Linked DNA regions of Homo sapiens: all the other regions are linked to region 2. Evidence: promoter capture Hi-C in 16 types of primary human blood cells and fetal thymus (Javierre and others, 2016). All regions are on one chromosome and are shown on one strand. The core of a region is centred on a gene start or on the middle of the fragment in contact, and the rest is flanking DNA. Distances in the headings are between cores, read along the strand shown.

Evidence for each region. The method cuts DNA at HindIII sites, captures the fragments that hold promoters and counts their contacts. A CHiCAGO score of 5 or more calls a contact.
Region 1: a contact is called between a fragment that was not itself captured here and the fragment with the promoter of USP37 in region 2, in 9 of 17 cell types (total CD8 T cells, naive CD4 T cells, fetal thymus and 6 more). The highest score is 7.2, in total CD8 T cells.
Region 3: a fragment that was not itself captured here is called in contact with the fragment with the promoter of USP37 in region 2 in 1 of 17 cell types (monocytes); the score reaches 5.6 in monocytes.
Region 4: the fragment with the promoter of SLC11A1 here is called in contact with the fragment with the promoter of USP37 in region 2 in 2 of 17 cell types (neutrophils and monocytes); the score reaches 6.0 in neutrophils.
Region 5: a fragment that was not itself captured here is called in contact with the fragment with the promoter of USP37 in region 2 in 2 of 17 cell types (naive B cells and total CD8 T cells); the score reaches 5.5 in naive B cells.
Region 6: a fragment that was not itself captured here is called in contact with the fragment with the promoter of USP37 in region 2 in 3 of 17 cell types (total CD8 T cells, naive CD8 T cells and naive B cells); the score reaches 6.6 in total CD8 T cells.

Annotation. Positions count from the first base shown.
Region 1 is chr2:218,701,258-218,704,335 of GRCh38, reverse strand. It overlaps STK36 (serine/threonine kinase 36), which reads right to left. Exons shown (of 27, transcript NM_015690.5): 27 at 1,621-2,470. The coding sequence ends at 2,327. Among named protein-coding and RNA genes, the nearest start is that of TTLL4, 8.0 kb to the left of the region's middle. The HindIII fragment of the contact is 889 bases long and covers 1,282-2,170 here.
Region 2 is chr2:218,567,071-218,570,134 of GRCh38, reverse strand. It overlaps USP37 (ubiquitin specific peptidase 37), which reads left to right and starts at 1,784. Exons shown (of 26, transcript NM_020935.3): 1 at 1,784-1,957. CNOT9 (CCR4-NOT transcription complex subunit 9) reads right to left here and starts at 1,296. Exons shown (of 8, transcript NM_005444.3): 1 at 1,157-1,296. The coding sequence starts at 1,180. RefSeq lists enhancers at 702-891, 686-1,313, 1,314-1,941 and silencers at 1,602-1,661, 1,752-1,821. The HindIII fragment of the contact is 2,574 bases long and covers 459-3,032 here.
Region 3 is chr2:218,739,666-218,742,583 of GRCh38, reverse strand. It overlaps TTLL4 (tubulin tyrosine ligase like 4), which reads right to left. Exons shown (of 20, transcript NM_014640.5): 4 at 2,417-2,526; 5 at 2,000-2,063. Among named protein-coding and RNA genes, the nearest start is that of TTLL4, 30 kb to the right of the region's middle. The HindIII fragment of the contact is 2,771 bases long and covers 1-2,686 here.
Region 4 is chr2:218,380,823-218,383,918 of GRCh38, reverse strand. SLC11A1 (solute carrier family 11 member 1) reads right to left here and starts at 1,646. Exons shown (of 15, transcript NM_000578.4): 1 at 1,544-1,646; 2 at 817-959. The coding sequence starts at 1,550. The HindIII fragment of the contact is 6,449 bases long and covers 3-3,096 here.
Region 5 is chr2:218,717,985-218,720,796 of GRCh38, reverse strand. The region is part of intron 1 of TTLL4 (tubulin tyrosine ligase like 4); the gene reads right to left. Among named protein-coding and RNA genes, the nearest start is that of TTLL4, 8.6 kb to the right of the region's middle. RefSeq lists a silencer at 934-1,231. The HindIII fragment of the contact is 161 bases long and covers 1,347-1,507 here.
Region 6 is chr2:218,345,978-218,348,687 of GRCh38, reverse strand. PNKD (PNKD metallo-beta-lactamase domain containing) reads right to left here. Exons shown (of 10, transcript NM_015488.5): 10 at 1,895-2,710. The region is part of intron 2 of CATIP-AS2 (CATIP antisense RNA 2); the gene reads left to right. Among named protein-coding and RNA genes, the nearest start is that of MIR6810, 5.4 kb to the right of the region's middle. The HindIII fragment of the contact is 175 bases long and covers 1,180-1,354 here.

The sequences.
Region 1 (3,078 bases), core at 477-2,976, 130 kb before region 2:
ATGCCACTGCCCTCCAGCCTGGGTGACAGAGCGAGACCCTGTCTCAAAAACAAACAAACACCAGAATAACAAAATAGATATGGTAGCTGCTCAAGTAGTGATGGAGTACACTGAACTATCCTCTACCTCTGTGTGTGTTCAAACATTTCCAACTGAAAGACAAGATGTTCACAATTGAACTCATTCCCACCCATTATCACTCCACTGCTAGCCTTCCCCATTTTAGTGAATGACAATTCCATTCTTCCAATTGCTCAGACCAAAAACCTTGGAGTCATCCCTGACTGCTTTCTTTTGGTCATACCCTCACCTCCAATCAGTCAAGAAATCCTGTTTGTTCCATGTTCAAAATATATTCAAAATTTGACTACTTTTTTATCACTCCATAGGTATCACCCCAGTCGCCATCCAGGACACCATTGTCTCTTGCCTGGATTATTATAACAATAGCCTCCTAACTGCTTATCCTACTTCGCATTCTCCCCTACTCCCCATAGCCATTCACAAGACCAGAATGAAGAATGATCCGTTTAGGATGCAAGGTAGTTCATAAAATTCTCTGTTCAAAAGCCTGCAATAGATGCCTCCTTCATTCAAAGTAAGAGCCCAAGTCTTCACCAAGGTCTACAAAGCCTACAATATCTGGCCCCCACCATTACCTTCCTGTCTCATTTCCTACTATTCTCCACCTTCTTTACTCACTTAATCCATACTGGTTCCTCATAGCTCCTCAAGCATGCCAGGCATGCTTTCATCTCAGGGCCTTGGCTTTTCCCCAAAATAGGTGCACAACTCACTCCCTCGCCTCCTTCGAGTCTTTTCTCAAGTGTCACCTTCTAGTGAGGCCTACCCTGACCATCCGACTCAGCACTCCTCATCTCCTTTCCCTGGTTTCTTTTTCTCCATAGCTTTTACCACCTTCCTACATACTATTCTTTTAATAATTTCACTATCTCCCCGACCAGAATGGAAACTCTATGATGGGCACTGTTTTATCTCCTGTACCTAGAATAGTATCTGGCATACAGAAAGGACTCAAAAAATATACATTGAACTGAATTGAGATAATCTGGATAGAAGAAAATTATGGTGCTCCCTAGAAAAATATTATTTTTGCTAAAGTATAAACACTGTGGACAATGAAGATGAGGGTTAAACAAAATTTCTTATAAAAATAAGGGCACTTTACTTGTCTTTCATTTCTAAAACAACTGGAATTTAAGGAAGGACAGAAAGGAGTCTCCTCATTTTATGGATGGAGAAATCAAGGCCCTGGAAGCTTGTTCTAAGCCATCCAATGAGTTAAGGTTTTCCAATGCTTCCAGTTAGATTATAATTCTAACAGGTCTGACTAAAAGCCCTTTCTGGTAAATTGTACAATCTTTAAAATAGCTATCCTTCTACAGCAGCTTGGAGTCCCTACACATTAGAACTCCACTAAATATTAAAATTAGTCACTAAGTCTGAGCAACCTAATTGACCGCTCTGTTGAATCTTACCCTTTCCTATTTCAGCTCCACCGGCCTTGACTTGAAAGTAGGTAACCAAATATAGTTCATCTAGGAAGGGGGAAATTGGTAAAGGCAAGAAATGATATAAATAAGCTGCCAGACCAGGATCTTGTGTGAACACGATACCAGCACCTCCAACACCACATAGAAGCTGAAAGAGGGGTTGAGCCTCTCAACCCTTGTCCTGGGAGCTTCAAGTATGGTGAGGCACAACTTTTATTAAAAGAGTTTACAAACAGAACTATTAAACACACACACACATACACACACACATATACACACACACCCCAAAAAAAGATACACTCTCCACGCCCACCCACAGATAGGAATGTTGGCTAAGGGATAATCCCTCAATAACAGGGACTGATGGCATTGATCCCCACAGCCTAGAGCTGAGACAGGCTCTGTCTTCATCACTGTCCTGGGGCCAGCACGTCTAAGGCAAAAACCTGCTGGGAAGATTAAAGGAGCTCCAGAAAGGAAGAGATCTTTCAGGTTGAGGTTTTTCCCTAAGGTCCGTGAGGCAGGTCCCTAGAGTTAAAGGCACATTATTGGAGAAAAGGCCCCTGGATGTAGAGAAGAAAGGACTCTTCTCTGGCACCAACAGCAATAAAATTTACTGGTTGAAAACATCCTGCATCTGGGAGAAGGAAGAAGCTTTATATATAAATCTCTTCTAGTTTCTTGTTCTCAGTTGAGTTGGCAGCTTATCTCTTTTCTAGTCTCTTTAGCTCTCAGTTGAGTTGGCGGCTTGTGTAGTAGAATAAGAAAGAGCTGGCAACCAAAGTTGGAGGCTGGACCGCAGGAATCTGGAATCACATGCTATGGGCTGGCCTCAGGAGGTGAATGAGTTTCCTGCAGTGTTTGGCAGAGGCAGGCCTAGGACTGCTGTGTGGCAGTGACTGATTCCCCAGAGAGAGCAAGGATAGTTTCTCACTGGCACCCAGGGACACCAGTACCTGTAGGATAGAGAACAGATGATAGAACAGAACATGAGGCTCAGAAATGGTGGTGTCTGGGGCAGGTGCGGAGGACTCTCATTTACCCAGGAATTCCCACTCGAGAAGAGGAAGAAAAAGGAAATGGGCTCTTGGGGACTTGGAATAGACTGAATGGCAGAAGAGAAACCTTGGAGATAGGAATCATCAGGACCAGAAGTCTACTTCCATTCTCTTTGGTTATAGACCATGAAACCAAGGCACTAAGGGACACATATACTTGTCCCCAGGAAGACTTGATGAATGCAGCAGTAACTCACAGTAAGCCAAAAGGTCTAATTCCTAGCCTTCAATGCAGACCAGTGAGTTCTAACCTCATTACCACCAAGAATCCCATTAATTATTTTCCCCATGGATTGCACAAGATTCCTATAGGATCTTCACCATCGGCCAGGCAAGGTGGCTCATGCCTGTAATCCCGTACTTTGGGAGGCCAAGGCGGGCGGGTCACGAGGTCAGGACATCGAGACCATCCTGGCTATCACGGTGAAACCCCGTCTCTACTAAAAAAAAAAAAAATACAAAAAATTAGCTGGGTGTGGCGGCAGGTGCCTGTAGTCCCAGCTACT
Region 2 (3,064 bases), core at 535-3,034:
TTCAATATTCTTTCATGCAGCAAAGTATCTGAGTCTTTAATCTTGTACTAGGAACTGTCCTGGCACCGGGGAAACCACGTCAACAGGGCTCACATGATCCCTGTCCCTGCCCTCAAGGAGACAGACAACAAATAAACGAATACAATAATTACACGGGGATCAGGGCTGTAAAGGGTACTCTACTAAAGTTAGAGGCTGCGGAACTAATTTGAAGAGGATAGTCAGGGAAGGCCACTCTGAGACCGATTTAGGCAGAGACCTGAAGAAAGATGGATTTGGATAAACAGTTTAAGGAGAGGAAGGAGAGTTCAAGGAAGAGGTACCAATTACACTCATGCTGTGTATGTAAAGGAGGAGGGATAAGAAGAACATTCACTCCAGGCATAGAGACCACAAAGTGCATCTTGGAGAAAAATAAGCGCGTTGCAGAGGGTTAGGTGGCCAGAGTAGCTGAAGCTTTAGGAGCAAGAGACATAAAACGAGATTATAAACGTGGGTTAAGTACCACATCATACAGGGCCGTGCAGGCTATGGCAAGGAGTCTAGATTTTATTTAAATGCCAAGAGAAGTAGGATTACTTCGGATAGCTGAATTACACTATCTTTCTTTTTTGTTAAAAGATCACGCGGGTAAAACGAGATGTGTCGAGGAAAAGTTTTAAATGCAGAGAACCTAAGTCAGATGCAAAAATTATGCACTTTTCCGGGCCTCAGGTTTTCCATAAATAAAGCAAGTGGTTTGAACTAGAAGCCATTTCCTTCCCGCTGCGACGTGGTGAGTTCTAAGAGCAGGGGCCGCGTCAGATTGACCATGGAATTCCCCTCATCGACGCCGGCGCCCAGAACACAACTGGCGCCCTGAAACTGTTGGTCAGCGCAATAAATCAATGAATGGCCTGCTACGGGCGTGGGACCAGGCCCCGGCGCCCGCAAAGAACGCGATGGGTCGCGCTGAAGGCCGCGAGAGGCGTCCGGCAAGGAAATAGGGGCCGGCTCCACCACAACCAAAGCGTGCCGAGGAGGGGAACCGGGGCCTTGGAGATTGAGGGCAGAAAAAAATCAGACTAGGGACCCGACACCGGGAATTAGGAGAGAAGGCCGAAACGTGGGTCTGAGAAAGGATTCTGGTTCCAAGCCTGGGGGCCCAGCCACTCACCGCAGCCGTCGCCAGGCTGTGCATGTTGTGAGCGGCCGCCGCTCTCTTCCACAGCCGGACGCGTCCGACCCGCGTCCCCCCTTCAGCACCCCTGCAGCGGAAAACAATGAGCCGCCGTAGCCGCCATCCGACTCCGGCTCGCTCCGCCCACTTCGCGGCCCTCTGACCTCTCACCCCTGACCCCACCCACACATCCTCTTCCCGCCTCCAGGGCCTAGTTAACAGTCCCAGAGTATGTCCTTTGCCCCTTAAGATTTAGGACCGGAAGGACGTCCGCGACCACTAGTCCCCGCAACTTCTGGCTTTGAGCAGTTATTTCCAGAGAGCGGCGTGAACTCTGACCCTCCTCCAAAAGCCAGTGAACGGCGGGAAAAGATGGACAGTCCCGGCAAGACAACTATTGCGCATGCCCGACTGGGTTGCGTAGGAGGGAAATGGTGGGGGGGCGTCGAAATCGGGTGAGGTGGAAAGTGCGCGTGCCTACTACAGTCACGGCAGGGGCGGGGCTGCCCGGGCTAGGCCGCTCTAGGTACTGGCGGGGCGGGGCGAGGGCGTGTGAGGGGCGGAGTTTTCGACTGACGCGCACGCGCCTGTCTGGTCGCGTCGAGTGTGCGTGCGTGCGTGCGTGTTTGCGTGTGGTCACAGTTCCCGCCATCAGCCGCTCTCCCTGACTAGGGGTAGCTAGCGGCCTCCCTCCTTTGGGTTCGGTATCCCTACTTCCATTACCCTCGGCTCCTCCCACTCCTCGCGGGCTCCGTGCTTTCCGCGGGTCTGTCCGGGGGCTCCGGACCCTCGGCGCAGGTAAGGCGGGCCGGGGTAGCTTCTCAATTGAGCCGTTTTCCCTACCTCCTCCTCCTTCTGTGCGATCCGCCCACTCGGCGTTCACTCCTCTGGAGTTCGCCCTGCTGCTACTCAGCCCGCCCACAACCCCTCGATGCACCCCCAGCCTCACAGGTACTACCTTTGGGTGCACTGCCCCGGCTTCCACCTCTCCTTTGACTTGGTCTCCACTGCCACTCGCTCCCTCCGAAACTCAAACCTGGCCCCTTTTCTCTGGGGCTGTTGTCGTTCGCCTCTTACCTTCTAACAGGGCCTGCTGTCTCTTCAGGTGACTTTCGTTACGGCACATCCACCAGGCCTTGGACATGATACTCATTCACTCTCTTGACCATCTTCACCTTCCTCTTGACCAGTCCTCACTGCAAAACATGAATTGTATTTTTGTTGTGCATTTCCTTGCGCCCATTTCTAGCCGCCAGATCAGGTTGTTAGATGTAACTATTTTAAGTCATGATCCATGAAAGGAAATGATGATTGATGATAAAATCCTGTGTCCTGAAGAGTTGTCCTAAAGTGGTTTTGGGGTATTCCTCTCAAAATTTCAGCTCTGTATAAATTCCTTTATTGAGGTGGCAATTCCTGACAAGTGTCTAACTGGAAGAGATACCTGAGAGGGAATGTCAAGTAGGCAGTTGGATATAGTGGGTTTGGAGATCTTAGGAGAGTTCTGGGCTGCGTACGTAAATGTGCGCGGTGTGTGTATGTGTTTGTCATCTGCCATATTGATAGTAATTGAAGCCATGGATGTGGATGAAATTGCCGAAAAAGAGTATAGTGCTGTAAAATAAAGGCACCTAGGATGGAGCATTGACGAATTCCTGCTGTTTAATAACCAATAGAGGAGGATGCGTCTTGCAAGCCATGAAAAAAGTCATCAGTAGTGTTGCATTCTGCTGAAAGGTAAAATGGAAGGAGGACTGAAAAACCCAGTGATATAAAAGTACTCACTTGTCTTAAAGATGTTTGATGAAGTAAAATGAGTATTTGGGTTCAGTCCTAGGTCCTCTTCTTTTACTCTTATATTCCTCCCTAAGCTTTAAATTTGATCTATATATTGATGACTTAAAA
Region 3 (2,918 bases), core at 52-2,551, 170 kb before region 2:
GCCATGCTAGAAACTATGACCTTGGAACAGCTGCTTCACTTCTCTGGTCCTCAATATTTACACTGGACTTGATGGCTTCCATCTCTAAAATTACATGATTCTTAGAGCACAACAACAGGAAATGCAATGAAAGTACTGCTGTGTAAAGAAACAGGTAGTGTTTCCAATGATTTTTCTGTTTTTCAGTGGTTGCCAAATTTTCCATAATATACAAATGTTTCATAATAGAGAAAAAATAAGATTTTAGCAATCCAAAAGTATTTTACTCATCTTTAAAATGCAAAGTGGTTTGGAATTCATCTATCTCCATTTTTGGTCAGGTGCAATGGCTCAGACCACTAATCTCAGTGCTTTGGGAGGCTAAAGCAAGAGGATTACTTGAGGCCAGAGTTCAAGACAAGCCTGGGTAATATAATGAGACCTTCCCCCACAACTCTACAAAAAAAATTTTTTTTAATTAGCTGGGTGTGGTGGGTGGTCCTGTAGTCCCAGCTGCTCAGGAGGCTGAGGCAGGAGTATTGCTTGAGCCCAGGAGTTCGAGGTTACAGTAAGCTATGATGGATCCACTGCACTCTAGCCTGGGCAACAGAGCAAGACTCTGACTCTAAAAAATAAAAATATATATTTCCATTTTCTTGAAAATTATGTTTAAGCCTCATATAGAGAAAAAGTTATGTGCAATTTGTAGAAGTTAATTAATTAATGAGCAAATGATTAACAAACACCTTTTGTGAATTTTATCTTATATATCAGGAAGGCTAAAGGGTTGTGTAGCAGTCCTGAAGTAGGCCCTTAAGTGTAAAAAAGGTAGGACTCCAAATCAATTACATGTCAAATATCTTTCTCCTATGAAGAGTGGAGGTACTTAATCAATATCCAATATATATAACCTGAAGTAGTTCTGCTTTTCTGGAAGGAGGATGGGTTGGGCTGAAAGTGACAATTTATGCATCAGACTCAGGGTGCCCGTGATGGGATTTCTATCCACCTTCACAGAGAATCCCAGTTCTCGCTCCCACTTTCCAAACAGCTCTGTCTCCACCTTGCAGGTTAGGGGCTCTAAAATTGGTGTGCTGCTGCCACACCATAACATTTCACAGAGATGCAGCCTGTCTTGTCCATGCTAAACGAGGCAGAGAAGGCTCACTTTCTTCTTAGCTTCATCTAAGGCAGGGTTGATGCAAAGAAAAACAACCCGACTCTGGGTGCTCCATATATTGGTCAAGCCCAGTGATATACAGGTTTTAATTAAAAGTTAGGGCCAGGTGCAGTGGCTCAGCCCTATAATCCGAGCACTTTGGGAGGCCAACGATTACAGGTGTGTGCCACCATACCCAGCTAATTGTTTCCATTTTTAGTAGAGATGGGGTTTCACCACGTTAGCCAGCCTGGTCTCTAACTCCTGGCCTCAAGTGATCCACCCATCTTAGTCTCCCAAAGTGTTAGGATTACAGGCATAAGCCACTGCGCCCAGCCCATTATACTGTTGTTGTTGTTGTTGTTTTGTTTTTGAGACAAAGTCTTGCTCCATCACCCAGGCTGGAGTGCAGCAGCGCGATCTCAGCTCACTGCAACCTCCACTTCCCAGGTTCAAGTGATTCTCGTGCCTCAGCCTCCCGAGCAGCTGGGATTACAGGTGTGCACCACCATACCTTGCTAATTTTTATATTTTTAGTAGAGACAGGGTTTTGCCATGTTGGCTTGGCTAGTCTCGAACTCCTGACCTCAGGAGATCCGCCTGCCTCAGCTTCCAAAGTGCTGGGGTTACAGGTGTGAGCCACTGCGCCTGGCCCATGATACTGTTTTTAAGCCCCACAGATGAGATGTGCTTCTGGCCCCCCATTACTCCCTGTTCAAAAACTAAAGTCGCAAACATAAAAATTTGGTAAAAATGCATTAGAGTTCTCCAGGCCATTAATGACTTGAGTGGTTTATCTCTTTATAATCTTTAAGAGACAAAAGATGAGCATGTAACAATGATCTATACAGCCACACTTACCTAGAGATCATGGCCACCGATTCGCTGGGGGAGACAGCACTTAATGAGGAGCACTCTGAGTCTCCTAGAGGAAGGAAGAACAGAGAAATTCTGACTAGAAGAGGCTGCAGCACAAACTTACCAAGCCTAGGCAACTCTTCCTTGAATATCCTGGGCTCAACCCTTCTTGGGGAGCCACAAGCACCACCCCGCTGCTTTGCACTGCCTTCCTCAACAGAAGCAGCGGGAAGGTAAGACCAGTGGGACAGGAGGACTAGAGACCCAAGTCCTCTAGAAGGCACTACCCCCACTTAAGACCCCCAAAGCAAATGACTGATGTAGGTAATGTGAGTCAAGGACCTAGTACACAATTGTCAGCCCCCTGCCCAACAGGTCATAACCAACTCCTAGTTGGAAGTGAAAGGGTTTCCTACTCACCCTCCTCCTCTTCATTCTCATCACGGCTACAACAGTCTTCCAAACCATCTACTAGTTCTTCTTCTGTATCTTCAGTCTCAGCCTGATCTGGCTGGAGGTCAGTAGCTGAACTAAAAGAAAGAATCATGCCCCCAGCCTAGTCAACTCCATCAAAGAGGTCACAGTTAGATTCTCATTCCTTCATCATCTCCCAGTATTTGCCCCTTCTCCATTACCAATCTGCTACTTCTTGCCTGGACCTCACAACTCATTTCTTTTGTCTTCAAAGCTTAGGTCTAGGCATAGCTCCTCAACCTTACATCTCCCATTCTGCAAAGAGGCACTATGTTTTCCATTTTCTTTGGTGTCCCTCATAGCATATAAGTACAACATTCTACATCTAAAAAACCATCAATGGATATCTGGTAATTGACTTGAAATGTCCCTAGGCCACTCTCTGGGAACTCAGAAAAAGGCCTTAGTGGACCAAGTTCCCAGGAAAATAACAAAACACAACAGAAGG
Region 4 (3,096 bases), core at 397-2,896, 190 kb after region 2:
CTTCCCTAGCCCAGCTCCTCCCTTGCCAGCTCCTTTTCAGACCACGGGGCCTCCTCTCTGTGGTCCGCTGAGGCTATGGTCCCCCCACCCTGTTCCAGAGCATGGCATATTGACTTAGAAATCTGCTGAAGATATTGGAGGCTGGGAGCGTTGGCTCGTGTCTGTAATCCCAGCACTTTGGAAGGCCGAGGTGGGTGGATCACTTGAGCTAAGGAGTTTGAGACCAGCCTGGCCAACATGGTGAAACCCTGTCTCTAGTAAAAATACAAAAATTAGCCTGGCATGGTGGTGCATGCCTGTAATCCCAGCTACTCGGGAGGCCGGGGCAGGAGAATCGCTTAAACTTGGGAAGCGGAGGTTGCAGTGAGCTGAGATCGCGCCACTGCACTCCAGCCTGGGCTACAGAGCGAGACTCCATCTCCAAAAAAAGAGAAGATACTGGAAATGCAGGTGACAGCATCCTAGATGCTAGATGCCAGCCTGCAGCCTCCTTCACTTCTCCCTATGCCCTTTCCTAAATGCTATAACATGTCCTCAAGGCTCCAATCCCAATTCCCCCTGGGCCTCTTTTCCTTCATAGGAAAGCTGAGATTCATTGAGAAAGTCATTTAATCGCTTTTAGACAAATACTGAAGCACCCCAGCTAAGCACTGGGGACGGAAGCAGGAAGGGGCAGTTGCCACTGTCCACCACTGCTGCTCAGACCTGGAAGGGACTTGCCACCCATGATCATAAGGAGACCCCATTCTCCAGCCCATGGGATCCTTCAGGATCCTGTCAATCTTGCAAGCCCCCAGGAAGTTTCCAGCATCCCACCGGTTTTGTGTCTGGGATGGGGATCTTCTCACTCAGGTAGGTCTCTCTGGGAGGTGCTTGCTGTGGCCCTGGGCTGGTCGGGCTGGTCGGGCTGGAGATGGAACCATAGCTGGACCCGCTTAGCCTTTGGGGACCCTTGTCACCTGTGGGGGCCCATGAAGCATGGTGAGTGTCCTGCCTCTTTCTGGTGGCCCAGAGTTAAAGCCGCCTGATCCTTTCCCTCCTCCTCCCGGAAAAGTGGAGAAACTAAGGTCCCTGGCCCCCATCTTGGGTCCATCACCTCCACCTCTCAAACAAACATTCCAGATGTGTGGGACATGGCAGCTTCAGAATTACTGTCCTCTCATGTGAGGACAGATGCCCAGAGGCAGATCTCCTGCCACAGAGAATGCAGAGAGACCCTAGGCTCTAAGAAGGGCAAGCTGAGGCCACATGTCTGCCCCTTGGCTGGACCCCTCACCTTCTCCGGCAGCCCAGAAAGCTCCAGGGGCTTTGATCCACGGACTTCAGACAAAGGAAAGGTAGACCGCTTAGGGGTGTGAAGGACTCCACCCAGTGAGATTGAGTCTGGTGTCCAGAACTGTGTTCTAGACTAGGACTCCCACGGGGGACCAGAGGCTTCCACAGGGGACCAAGGGCTTTCTTGCTTCCTCAAGTCTCCACCAGCCTAGTGATCTCCTCCACTCCACCCCCCAATCAGGCTCTGTCCCTAGGGGCCACTACTCACCTGTCATTGAAATGCCGACTTCAGGTACTCTGGGAGTGTGAGCGGTGCTCTGGGCAGCTCCTCAGCCTGCACCCCCTCTCTGGGCACTGGTGCAAGTAAGTGTGCCAGCCCACGCCCTGTTACCCATCCGCAGCCGAGTGCCCTGCCTCTTACATCAACATTCGGTTCACATCGGCCGATTCACACACACACACAACATGGGGCGTTGTGAAACATTTTCCAAAGGCAGAAGTGGCCAGCCCTGGCGGAAGGGTCTGGTTACCCATGGAGTGGACCTTTGTTCCCCTCCCAGCCTGCCCTGTGCCCCACAACACATCTGTTCCCCTTCCAGGCACCCCGTGTTCTGTGCCTCCCAAGTTAGCTCTGATTTCAGATGCTTCCTGCCCCTTGCGTATTCATGTCAATACCCCATGACCACACCCCCCTCTGCCACACACACACACACACACGTACACACACACGTACACACACACAGAGTCAGGTCTTTCTTATTCTCTTTGATCTGGAGTTCCAAGACCCCTCGTTGGCCTAATGCGAGTCTTCATGTCCTCAAAGGCTTCAGTTTCCCTTTGAGGGCCACAGAGGAAGGCACTGCAGAAGGGACATGCATTGAAGATTCAGACCCAGGACGTCCCCAGAAGATGGGGCACTGGGATCTGGTCCTGGTTCAACCACTGATTCACTTGAGATTGTCACCAGATCATGTCCCTTCTCAGAGTTGTTTATTCTATTCCACCCCCACCCTTTTTTTTTTTGGTTTTTCGTTTTTTGTTTTTTTTTTTAGAGACAAGGTCTCGCTCTGTCACCCAGGCTAGAGTGAGGTGTGAAGTGCAGTGGTGCCATCTTAGTTTACTGCAGCCTCAAACTCCTTTTTTTTTTTTTTTTGAGACAGAGTCTTACTCTGTTGCCCAGACTGGAGTGCAGTGGCATAATCTCAGCTCACTGCAACCTCTGTCCTCCATGTTTAAGCAATTCTCCTGCCTCAGCCTCCTGAGTAGCTGGGACTACAGGCATGCACCACCACACCCGGCTACTTTTTGTATGTATGTATGTATGTATGTATTTATTTACTTTGAGATGGCGTCTTGCTCTGTCACCCAGGCTGAAGTGCAATGGCGCGACCTTGGCTCACCGAAACCTCTGCCTCTTGGGTTCAAGTAATTCTTCTTCCTCAGCCTCCTGAGTAGCTGGGATTACAGGCACCTGCCAACCACACCTGGCTAATTTTTGTATTTTTAGTAGAGATGGGATTTCACCATGTTGGCCAGGCTGGTCTCAAACTCCTGACCTTGTGATCCGCCCGCCTCAGTCTCCCAAAGTGCTGGGATTACAGGTGTGAGCCACTGTGCCCAGCCAATTTTTGTATTTTTTTTAGTAGAGACGGGGTTTCACTATGTTGGCCAGGCTGGTCTCGAACTCCTGGTCTCAAGTGATCCACCCACCTCAACCTCCCAAAGTGCTGGGATTACAGGTGTGAGCCACCATGCCTGGCATATAGCCTTAAACTCTTGAGCTCAAGAGAGCCTCCCTTCTCAGCCTCTCGGGTAGCTGGG
Region 5 (2,812 bases), core at 178-2,677, 150 kb before region 2:
CTATCAATCATCTCATTAGCATATAAAAAGACACTTATCACTTACAAGTTCTGAAGGTTTTAGGAGCCAGGAACCAGGGGCACACCCCAATTATGTATTTCTTTCTTTTTTTTTTTTTTTTTGAGACCGGAGTCTCACTGTGTTGCCCAGGCTGGAGTGCAATGGTACGATCTCGGCTCGCTGCAACCTCTGCCTCCCGCGTTCATGCAATTCTCCCGCCTCAGCCTCCCGAATAGCCGGGATTACAGGCACCCGCCATCGTGCCCGGATAATTTTTGTATTTTTGTAGAGACAGGGTTTCACCATGCTGACCAGGCTGGAGTATTTCTTATTATATCACAATATCACATCAGCAAAGCCACGAGTTGGACCTATTCATATGAAAAAGGCGTTCCCCTCTTACCACCATCTCCTTGTTGCTATTTTTTACTCAGTGCGTGCACTCTGCCACAGCTGTACCCAACCCCTTCAATAGTGTCTTTCCTCCTCCTGAGGCCAATCCAAAATCCTCCAGTTCTTTCATCCTCCCCCACATCAAATCAATCTCTCTCACAATGTCAACTATTATCTGCAGAAGAGTCATTTTGCAGATTTGTCGTCTCAAGTTTCATGTCTGCATCACCAACTGCCTGTTCCACCTTTCCAAATGCATGTCCAACCACTTCAATCTAGTGTGTCAAACTAGCTCTCCACTCCTGATCGTCCCATTTCCTTGAGTGGACCCTTCTTTCTCCAAATCACCTAAGAGGAAAACTAAGTTATTTCTGACTTTTTCCTTTACTTTATTTCCCCAAAGGGAAACCAGTCATGAAATTTAAGACACTCTGTCTACTTAGCATTCTTCCTCCTTTTATTATTTCCACCATGCCCCTAGATCTGGACTTACTGCAACAGCACTGACTGAAGCATGTGTCTCCAAGGTGTGCCCTTCCTAATTCCACCCTGCAGGCAACCTCCAGATTAATTTTGCTGTATTGCTTCATCAGGTCAATCCCTTTTCAAAAACGGTCCATGAGCACTTACTAAACACTGTGGTGGCCCACCTGCATCAGAATAACCTGAGATGCAAAGTCCTGAGATTCACCTTCAAGAGGATTCAGTTGGTGTGGAGTAGGGCCATGAGTCTGCAGTTTTAACAAGCATTCCAGATGACTGTCATGTGAGATTTCTTAGCTTTGGTCCACAAGACTCCATAGTCGACCCTTAATCTTTTTTTTTTTTTTTTTAAGGCTTATTTCCATTTCCTCCTACCTTGAACTCTGTTATGTGAACTGCGCTGGTCTTACACTAAATTCCTGGAATAAACCTTTCAAATGCCTGTCTGCAGGGCTTTACTCCACTAAGCTTCTTCCTTGTGAATCCTTACCATATTTTATTTACCTTTTCCAGACCCAGCTCAAGACCCACCCTCTCCACGAGCACCTGTTGTGTGTCCCTCTCACGTGATACTTTCCCAAGGCTATCTCACACCACTGTTCACTTACCCTAGTGATATGCCCTATAAGCTTCATGATGGCTTTTATAGGAAATCTCTGGGGATCTTTAACCTCAAATACAGAGCCACGCTGGCAGAAGGGGGTGGGAAGAACCCTGGTCCAGTTTGGCCTCCTATTAGCAATATTGCCCAAGTCTCCTCCCCCAACAACTTTATGGAACACTAAGTCTTCCTAGAACAAAAGTTTTTAAAAAATTGACTTAGAAACGATGGATATGTTCAATGTGAATTATACCTCCACAAAACTGTTAAAAATAAAAATAAAACTTGAATAAAGGGGTAAGAGTGAAGAATAAAAAACTGCAGAAAGTTGTATGGATCAACAAAATGGCCTGAAACATCCCCTTCTATTTGCATGGCTGCCTCAGCCCAGTCTCCAACCCCTCTAACACCAAGTGCAGGACTGTTAAGGTAAGCAGCCTGACTGATGTCCCTGGCTCCAGACTCTCCCCTTTAAAACACCCATTCTCAGGAATCTGAACATCCTACTTTGTCATCTTCATGCAGCATTTGGAAACTGCCTATACAGTTCTGTCCTCCAATCTTTATGGGGTGATTTTGCCTCAAGTTTCCTCCTTAAAGGAGTGTGAATGATTAGTAGCCTATGTTAGAAAATCTATTGCTGGCCGGGCGCAGTGGTTCATGCCTGAAATCCCAGTACTTTGGGAGGCCGAGGTGGGCAGATCACCTGAGGTCGAGAGTTCGAAACCAGCCTGAGCAACATGGAGAAACCCCATTTCTACTAAAAATACAAAACTAGCCAGGCATGGTGGTGCATGCCTGTAATCCCAGCTACTTGGGAGGTGGAGGCAGGAGAATCGCTTGAACCTGGGAGGCAGAGGTTGCGGTGAGCCGAGATTGCGCCATTGCACTCCAGCCTGGGCAACAAGAGTGAAACTGCGTCTCAAAAGAAAAAAAAAAAAGAAAAGAAAATCTATTGCTGCTGTCGCAAACCAACAAGTCTCCAGGGACCAGGCCCAGACCAACTTGGACAAGGTATCTATTTCTAGAGAAAGCAATTATTCATTACCCACTAATTAAATCACTCTCCTACAAGAGAGTGTGGCTCTTGGGAAATGCAGTTTCCCTTTCCTCCTTCAACTAGGTGTTTCCCTCGGTCACCAGGGAAACTCAGGACATCAGAAATGGTTCAGTCTACAGTCCACAAGATCTCTGATGAGATTACCTCAACTGCTCAACAGTTATGTTAGAAGATAGAACTGACAGGCTCACGCCTGTAATCCCAACACTTTGGGAGGCTGAGGCAGGTGGATCACGAGGTCAGGAGATCAAAACCATCCTGGTTAACACGGTGAA
Region 6 (2,710 bases), core at 18-2,517, 220 kb after region 2:
TGCTGTGTCTGTGTAGAAAGAAGTAGACATAGGAGACTCCATTTTGTTCCGTACTAAGAAAAATTCTTCTGCCTTGGGATGCTGTTGATCTATGACCTTACCCCCAACCCTGTGCTCTCTGAAACATGTGCTGTGTCCACTCAGGGTTAAATGGATTAAGGGCGGTGCAAGATGTGCTTTGTTAAACAGATGCTCGAAGGCAGCATGCTCGTTAAGAGTCATCACCACTCCCTAATCTCAAGTACCCAGGGACACAAACACTGCGGAAGGCCGCAGGGTCCTCTGCCTAGGAAAACCAGAGACCTTTGTTCACTTGTTTATCTGCTGACCTTCCCTCCACTATTGTCCTATAACCCTGCCAAATCCCCCTCTGCGAGAAACACCCAAGAATGATCAATTAAAAATAAATAAATAAATAAATAAAAGAAGACATACATGTGGACAACAAACATATGAATAAAAGCTCAACATCACTCATCATTAGAGAAATGCAAATCAAAACCACAATGAGATACCATCTCACACAAGTCAGAATGGCTGTTATTAAAAAGTCAAAAAATAACAGACGCTGGAAAGGTTGTAGAGTAAAAGGAACGCTTATACACTGTTGGCGGGAGTGTAAATTTGTTCAACCAAAGTGGAAGACAGTGTGGTGTTTCCTCAAAGACCTAAAGACAGAACTACCATTCGACCCAGCAATCCCATTACTGGTTATATACCCAAAGGAATATAAGTTGTTCTATTATAATGATATGGTGTGGCTTTTTGTCCCCACCCAAATTTCATCTTTTTTTTTTTTGGGACAGAATCTCCCTCTGTTGCCCAGGCTGGAGTACAGTGGTGCGATCTTGGCCTACTTCAACCTCTGCCTCCCGGGTTCAGCGATTCTCGTGCCTCAGTCTCCTGGGTAGCTGGGATTACAGGCGCTCACCATCATGCCTTGCTAAGTTTTGTATTTTTAGTAGAGACGGGGTTTCACCATGTTGGCCAGGATGGTCGTGATCTCCTGACCTCGTGATCCGCCTGCCTCAGCCTCCCAAAGTGCTGGGATTACAGGCGTGAGCCACCACGCCCGGCCCTTTAATCATTTTTATGAACTGAAAACCAGTGTCACTTGTCAAAAATAAATATTGAACCCAAATATAAATATAATGAAAACAAAACGATGTTGTTAAAGCTTAACTACAGACATTTCCCAACTAAAGTATGAACCTGGATCCCGGGTCTTTCTTTCCAAAGACATTAAAGACAGACTAGTGCCAAGACCGTGTCCTTGAAGTCCAATTGATTGCTGTGCTGTGGCCATGTACAGCCACCCTACTTTGGCCAGTGGTACACTTGTGTATCTCAAGCTTTGGGAAACATTGAGATAAGCAAATCGTAAACCCTGAACAAATGCCCATGGGCCTTGGGAAGAACATATTTTAGGCATCATTTCTCTCTCTCTTTTTAAAAAAATTTTTTTTTTTTTTGAGACAGAGTCTCATTCTGTCGCCCAGGCTGGAGTGCAGTGGTGCGATCTCGGCTCACTGCAACCTCCGCCTCCTGGGTTCACGTGATTCTCCTGCCTCAGCCTCCTGAGTAGCTGGGATTATAGGCTCCTGCCACTATGTCTGGCTAATTTTTTGTATTTGTAGTACAGATGAGGTTTCACTATGTTGGCCAGACTGGTCTCGAACTCCTGACCTTGTGATCCACCCGCCTCAGCCTCCTAAAGAGCTGGGATTATAGGTGTGAGCCACTGCGCCCAGCCTTTGGGCATCATTTCTGATCAAAACTCTTGAAGTGCCTAACTGCAAGTTAGCAGGCCTGGAACTGAGATGGGAAAACTGTGAGAAAGTTCTCTGCTGTTTTCACTCATGTAGCAACAAAGACAAGCTGTTGGGTGATCAAGTCTTGATTAAATCATTCATTCATTCAACATTTATTGAGCGCCTACTGTGTGCTAGGCACCGTGCTAGGCGCAGAAATACAGAGATGCATAAGATACAGTCCATGCCCTTAAGGATTCACAGTCTAGAAGGGGAGACAAACATGTAAACAAGTAAAATACAGTGTGATAAGTGCCACAAGAGAAGCATTGACAAAGTGCAGAGGTAGCCTGGAGGGGAGGGGCACAGGGGTTGCCTTCCTGGAGGAGGGGGCCTTTGAGGGGATCGTGAGAGATGAACTTGCCAGGCAGACAAGGCAGGAGGAGCAGGGGAAGGCATTCCAGTCGGAAGAAACAGCATGAGCGAAGGCACAGAGGCATGAAACTGCATGTCTTGCTTGGTGAGTGGGGAACTCTAACTAGTCTGGTGGTATTGCTAAAGTGTACTAGAGGCTGTGGCTAGAGAAGGGGGCAGAGGCCAGATCATGAGGGGAAACTGAGGGCAGGGGCATCTTGGAGGGTCACCAGAGGTGAGCAGAGCCCGAGGGCAGGCTTTGACACAGGAAAAGAGGGCTCCTGGCTGACTCAAGGTACACCTGCCTGAGGACCACAGGGTTCCTCGCTGTGGCTCCAAAGGGATCTCGACCCAAGAGTAGAGGAGCAGCAGAGCTGGAGGTGAAGCAGAGGGGTCGGGCCAGGTCTGGGACCCAGAGCTGCCATGCACTCCCGCGCTCTCACAGACTTCTGATTTCCAACCTGCACGTCAGAGCCCCCTCCTGCCAGCCGGATGGGGGCCTGGATCCAGTGGGAAATCACATGGGAATATGGCTGGCAAACTGC